2 separate regions of the Homo sapiens genome follow, and region 1 is linked to region 2. The links are contacts of gene promoters, found by promoter capture Hi-C in blood cells and fetal thymus (Javierre and others, 2016). All regions are on one chromosome and are shown on one strand. Each heading gives the region's core, a stretch centred on a gene start or on the middle of the fragment in contact. The rest is flanking DNA. Distances are from core to core; before and after follow the strand shown. Region 1 has its middle 77 kb from the start of MTIF3. Region 2 holds the start of CDX2 (caudal type homeobox 2).

Region 1 (3,279 bases), core at 664-3,163, 440 kb after region 2:
CCTATATGACTTGTTACTTCAAAATGTCACAAAGCTAGGCAGAAAAACTAAAAATTTAGATGATGCTGAAACGGAAAGGGTGAACTTTTAAAAGGTAAAGTGTCTCATTTAGGCTCAAATGATTAATTGCATATGAACAAAATGGAGAAAAGTTGGAAATTCTAGACAGCCACAAATTCAGCATGAACTGGTGTGTAACTTGGCTGCTGGTGCAGTAGTCAGCTCCATTCACCCAGTGGAGCACAGCGTCTACATGCAGGGAGGGTGGCCCCCGCTGTCCTCTGTTCTCAGTATAACACATCCAGGTCTTCTGGGCACTCCTAGAGGTGGACGTGGGAATCTGGATCATGTCCCGAAGGTAGCTGTGGAAACCTCATCATCTGAGCTGTAACAGGAAACTGTAGACGTTGACCATGCAGTGGCCCAAGGCACACATCGGCTGTCTTCATAAGCTTCTAGGCCATCCTGCAGAAGAGAGCTGACACTTCCTGCATCACTGCAGAAGGCTGAGTGGGTGCTCGTGTTGAGAATTGTGGGAAGGCAGACGGGGTCACAATGCCAAGACAGGTCGCAACAATTCCAGGCACTCTGGCACGAGGCCAGTGTCTCCAGAAGGCTCCATGGAGAAGCCAGGTGGGCATCCGGAGAGACTCTTCTTGCATGGGAGCGAGGTTGGAGGAAGTGACCTCCAACACTGAGATTCTGGCTGGTGACTTAGGACTAAGGAGAAGGTGTCAGGGCCATGCCTTTCCATCACATCTGCAGGGCTCCTTTGGGTGGGTGGAGGGGTGTATTAGGCCGTTCTCGCATTGCTCTAAAGAAATACCTAAGACTGGGTAATTTATAAAGAAAAGAGGTTTAATTGGCTCACAGTTCTGCAGGCTTTACAGGAAGCATGGTGCTGGCATCTGCCTGGCTTCTGGGGAGGCCTCAGGAAGCTTCCAATCATGGCAGAAGGCAAAGGAAGAGCAAGCACTTCCCAGGGCAAAAGCAGGAGCAAGCACCAGAGTGGGAGAGTGGCGGGAGTTGCCACACACTTCCAAATGGTCAAATCTCTTGTGAACTCGAACAAGGACTTACTTATCACCAAGGGGATGGCCCAAGCCATTCATGAGGGCCTCCTCATGAGCCACCCCCATGATCCAAACACCTCCCACAAGGCCCCACCTCCAACATTGGGAATTACATTTCAACATGAGATTTGGAGGGGACAAATATGCAAACTATATCAGGGAGTTTCTAGTGGGGAACATTGAAGAAAAGGAGTGTCGGGGGGCACTTACTGCTTAAAGTCATGCAAAACAAGAGTGAAGAGCATATAGGACCAAGTTATCTCCTGCAGAGCACTTCTGGCAGCCCAAGGCACAGCTACTGGGGATCATTTTAGGAAGAAGAAAATAGCTGCATTCTACAGAGCACCTCACTGTGCCAGCATTCCTCAGAATGGGATGTCTCGGCACTAGCTGGCTGGCATTGTCTTCCTTAGCCGGCCTTGGCTGATAGTGACAGTGCCTTGTGCCAGGTCATCTGTACCCCCACAAGGGTGGCAGAGGCAGGCAGGTGGAGGGTATGAGAAGAGGAGAGGGTTGTGGATCACGGAAATGTCAGAGTCCTGGAATGCTGCAGGTGAGAACATCTCAGCAGGGGATCACCTGCTCAACCCCCTGGTTTTCAGGTGAGGAAACCAGACTTCAGATAAGTTAAATGACTTCCCCGGAGCTGGGCTGAACCAGCTGGGCTGAACCAGAACCAGGATCCAGGCTCCAGCCTCTAGATCTAATGCTAGCTCCACCTTCCCACACAGGAGGCCAGTGTGTAAGAAAGTGGGTGGTGAGGCCAAGGGGGAAGGAAATCTCATTTAAGATGACCACAAACAAAAGGAGAGGAGACCAAATGCATGCCCTTTCTTCAGAGAAGACACTTCTTCTCAGGCCTGGAGCCCTGATTCCTGGTTCCTTTGGGGCTGGGCACCTCACCTCCTGGCACTCCTGCCTATAGCCTGTAGAGTGGAATTTCAGATCCAGCCACTCTCGGGTTTGAATCCTGGCCATGCCACAAGCTACCTGTGTGAGTTTGGACACGTCACTTAACCTCTTTGAGCCTGAGCATCATCAGCTTTTTCCCAGGTTGGCACATGTGGCATCCTCCCAGCATTGGTGTGTGCTCACGGAGCTCAGCCACAATTCCTCATTACCTACTTCGAGATGATCTGGGTGCCTCCATCCCCTATTCTGCCCTAAGAGGTAGCCTTGTAAGTATTGCTGCTGCTCAGAAGGGAACCCTGAGAAAGGCATCCAGATGGACCTAGCATGAGGTAGATCTGAGAAGAGAGTGTTTGGAGGCAAATTTGACCCTGAATAGCCCTGTTTCCTACTGTCTTTGTCCATTTTCTGTTGCCATGACAGAGTACCTGAGACTGGGTAATTTATAAAAAGAAGAGGTTTATTTAGCTCACGGTTCTGCAGGCTGAAAAGTTCAAGAAGCAGGGCACCAGCATCTGCTCAGTGTCTGGTGAGGGCTTTCATGCTGTGTCACAACATGGCAGAAGGTCAAAGGAGAAATGATAAATGCAAAGAGGAAAAACCAAGGGGCCTCCTGGTTTTATAACAACACACTCTTGTGAGAACGAATCCATTCCTGTGATAACTAACCCAGTCTCACGAGATCAAAACTCACTCACTTCTTTCAGAATGACAGAAAGCCATTCATGAGGGGTTCACCCCCATGACCCAGACACCTCCCACTAGGATTTCCTGTCTTGGAGAAGGAGGAAATGAGAGTATTTGGGCTTAAACACCAAGGGAGAGGCTGATCTGACCTAAGGGAATGTGGGTTTCCCACTGGGAAAGGAAGAAGAGCATCGGAATTGGAATCAAGAGAAAGCTTGATCCAATTCTGGGTTCACTCCTATTAGCTGTGGGCTTTGGGCAAAGCATCTCACCTCTGAACCTCAGTGTCTTCCTCTGTACCAAGGGATAATGATAGCCTTTCCAACCTGACAAAGTGACAGAGGAAACATAAACTCAAAGGAGATAACGAATGTGAACATACTTTGTAAACTAGAAAGAAGTGTGCAAATAGATGTAAGGAGTTATTTTCATTGTTCTCTGTGCTTGTTCTCTGCCCATATGTTGTGTGGAAGAGAATCCTGCAGCAATGATACAGCTGCATCCTGCGGAAGGCCAGGGGCACTGCTCTGCACCCAGGCAGCCTGCAGCAGCCTGTCAAGGAGTCAGATGATGGCACCTGGCAAACTCCAAGCCGACAGCTTTAGAGCTC
Region 2 (3,149 bases), core at 349-2,848:
ATCGCTTTCAGGTGTCTGCAGAGGCAAGTTGCTGGTTGTCACCTGTAAAATGGGGAGGATAAAAACACCTCCCAGATTTTGTTCTAGATCCTAGGGGGATGTGAGGCTCAAGGGAGATAAAGGACACTGGAGAGCACCCTAGAAATGACAGGATGAAGGCGATGGTGACAAATATCCGAGCGAAACGCTTGACAATGAGAACAGACAAGTGCAGGTCTCCAGGAGTGCCGCGAGCGCCCGCGGGTTCTGAGAGCGCTCAAAGCCGCCGAGTCAGGCTGCCCAGCCCGCCGGGCCTCGCCGCAGTGATCCTCATTCCCGAATCTGGCAGCGCTGTCAAAGGCTTGTATTAGGAGGTGAACGGCGGCCGCAGGCCCACTCCACGCGGTTGCTGAAACCGAGCTGGGCGCGCGCGGGGGCCGAATCTCGCCGCCTCCGCGCTCCTGTCGGGGCAGCTCCCGATCCCGGGCTGCGCGGCTTCGGTCCCCAAGACGGCCACTTCCAGCCCTAGGCCCCTTGGCCGCAGCGCTTCCCAAACCAAGAGAGATCCTTTCTCAACTCAGAGCTTTTCATTAGCAGTCGTTAATAATGGCCCTGAGTTGCCTTATCATCTCCTGGAAATGAGAAATAAATTTCTTCGGAGAACGTTTCCCTTTGTAAAGGACAGAGAGTTTTAAAGATACAGGTATGATGTAAGACACATAAATACCTAGGTAAGCATTAGCAGAAATTCTCTTTTCCTTATATTTAAGTATAATAAACATACAAGTGTAGCTCAATGAATTTTCACAAACTGACATTCTGTGTAACCAGCAGCCTAAGAAACTGCTTTACCAACGATCCCCTAGCTCGCCTCCAGTTATGCACGCCAATAACCACTAGCCTAACTTCTACCACATGCCCATTACTTCTGTAGTTTAAAACTTCTGATTCTTGAATGTAAACGTTTAACAATAAATCGCTTGAATTTAACTCAAATTTCAAATGTAAGATGAAGTCAGAGATGCAGCCTGAATCTAGGATCATAATTTGTCTTGTGCGGAGGGCGAGTAATTTCCTTGGGCAAGAAAATAACTGGAGGTGACAGTTGTTTGGGGCTGCAGTCGTCCGGGCCAGGAGCACAGGGCGGGAAGGAATGGCCCATCTCTTAGGGCTCTCTGCTTGTCACCTACCAGGTTGGTCAGAAACGTTCTCATCAAAGCAATGGTTCTCTTTTCTTTTCTCTTTGGGACAGAAGGAGTTTCTTGACCGCCCTCTTCCCTGCAAATGCATAAACAACCACTGCTCCTGTCTCCAAGCTCAGATTCCTACCAAGATAGCCTTTTCTCTTCCCCTCTCTTTTGTAAGTCTCTTGATTTCATTCTTTGAACCTGTGATTGGAGGTTAAAGTGCACCAGGTTGGAAGGAGGAAGCTCTTAACAATAAAGGTTTGAATATTTAGCTGTGTCAGGTCGCTGCCCTCTCACGAGCCTCCCTCCCCTTTATCTTTTAAAATGCAAATTATGTTTCGAGGGGTTGTGCGTAGAGTGCGCGCTGCGCCTCGACGTCTCCAACCATTGGTGTCTGTGTCATTACTAATAGAGTCTTGTAAACACTCGTTAATCACGGAAGGCCGCCGGCCTGGGGCTCCGCACGCCAGCCTGTGGCGGGTCTTCCCCGCCTCTGCAGCCTAGTGGGAAGGAGGTGGGAGGAAAGAAGGAAGAAAGGGAGGGAGGGAGGAGGCAGGCCAGAGGGAGGGACCGCCTCGGAGGCAGAAGAGCCGCGAGGAGCCAGCGGAGCACCGCGGGCTGGGGCGCAGCCACCCGCCGCTCCTCGAGTCCCCTCGCCCCTTTCCCTTCGTGCCCCCCGGCAGCCTCCAGCGTCGGTCCCCAGGCAGCATGGTGAGGTCTGCTCCCGGACCCTCGCCACCATGTACGTGAGCTACCTCCTGGACAAGGACGTGAGCATGTACCCTAGCTCCGTGCGCCACTCTGGCGGCCTCAACCTGGCGCCGCAGAACTTCGTCAGCCCCCCGCAGTACCCGGACTACGGCGGTTACCACGTGGCGGCCGCAGCTGCAGCGGCAGCGAACTTGGACAGCGCGCAGTCCCCGGGGCCATCCTGGCCGGCAGCGTATGGCGCCCCACTCCGGGAGGACTGGAATGGCTACGCGCCCGGAGGCGCCGCGGCCGCCGCCAACGCCGTGGCTCACGGCCTCAACGGTGGCTCCCCGGCCGCAGCCATGGGCTACAGCAGCCCCGCAGACTACCATCCGCACCACCACCCGCATCACCACCCGCACCACCCGGCCGCCGCGCCTTCCTGCGCTTCTGGGCTGCTGCAAACGCTCAACCCCGGCCCTCCTGGGCCCGCCGCCACCGCTGCCGCCGAGCAGCTGTCTCCCGGCGGCCAGCGGCGGAACCTGTGCGAGTGGATGCGGAAGCCGGCGCAGCAGTCCCTCGGCAGCCAAGGTAAGCAGAGGCTGCGCCCCTTCGGAGGGTGCTTGGGAAGGCGCGGGTCGAGCCAGTGGCTGCTGCGCGTCGCGCGTCCAGTGCGCACAGGGGCGTCCCGGGCTGTCTGGGAGCTCGGCGCCAGGAGGGGCACGGCCCGGAGACAAATTCGGGGGCCTCTGGCCCGTCGGGGCTTCTCTGACCTACTGAGCCTGGGAGTGAATATTCTGAGTCTCAACACCGTGTTCAGGCGTCCTCTTTCCAAGAGCTCCTCATTCGCAACCCCGGGACACCTTCGGGAAGCTCCGGGGAATGTCGGCGTGAGCACTGCTGGACGCCGGCAGAATCGCGTCCTCCGGCACTTGCTGCGGCATGCATTCCTTGCGTGGCTCCTGGCCGCCGAGGAGAGAGGGAGGCTCGAACCTTCTTGGGCTAGGTCTAGGCCATTTATCTCCGCTCTCTCTTTCCCCATCTGAGCCATCTAAGAAGAGAAGTGACCTGGGGGGGTCGGAGGATGGCTAGGCTGTGTGTGGGACCGGGTTTGGCCACTCGGGCCAATTCAAGGTACAGCGAGCAGGCAGACCAGGGAGAGCTGCTGTCGCTGGGAAGAAGGTGCTAGCCCCAGCTGCTAAGGCGACGGGGGCGCGCCCCGTCTCTGAACCTCTGACCTGTGAAGGGGTCATTTCAAGCAAAAGCTGGAAGGCTAGGGGCAAGAAGCCTAGG

What was found. The method cuts DNA at HindIII sites, captures the fragments that hold promoters and counts their contacts. A CHiCAGO score of 5 or more calls a contact.
Region 1: a fragment that was not itself captured here is called in contact with the fragment with the promoter of CDX2 in region 2 in 1 of 17 cell types (M1 macrophages); the score reaches 5.3 in M1 macrophages.

Annotation. Positions count from the first base shown.
Region 1 is chr13:27,526,120-27,529,398 of GRCh38, reverse strand. No RefSeq gene overlaps it. Among named protein-coding and RNA genes, the nearest start is that of MTIF3, 77 kb to the right of the region's middle. The HindIII fragment of the contact is 1,945 bases long and covers 941-2,885 here.
Region 2 is chr13:27,967,764-27,970,912 of GRCh38, reverse strand. CDX2 (caudal type homeobox 2) reads left to right here and starts at 1,598. Exons shown (of 3, transcript NM_001265.6): 1 at 1,598-2,447. The coding sequence starts at 1,907. RefSeq lists an enhancer at 1,672-2,363. The HindIII fragment of the contact is 4,126 bases long and covers 1-3,149 here.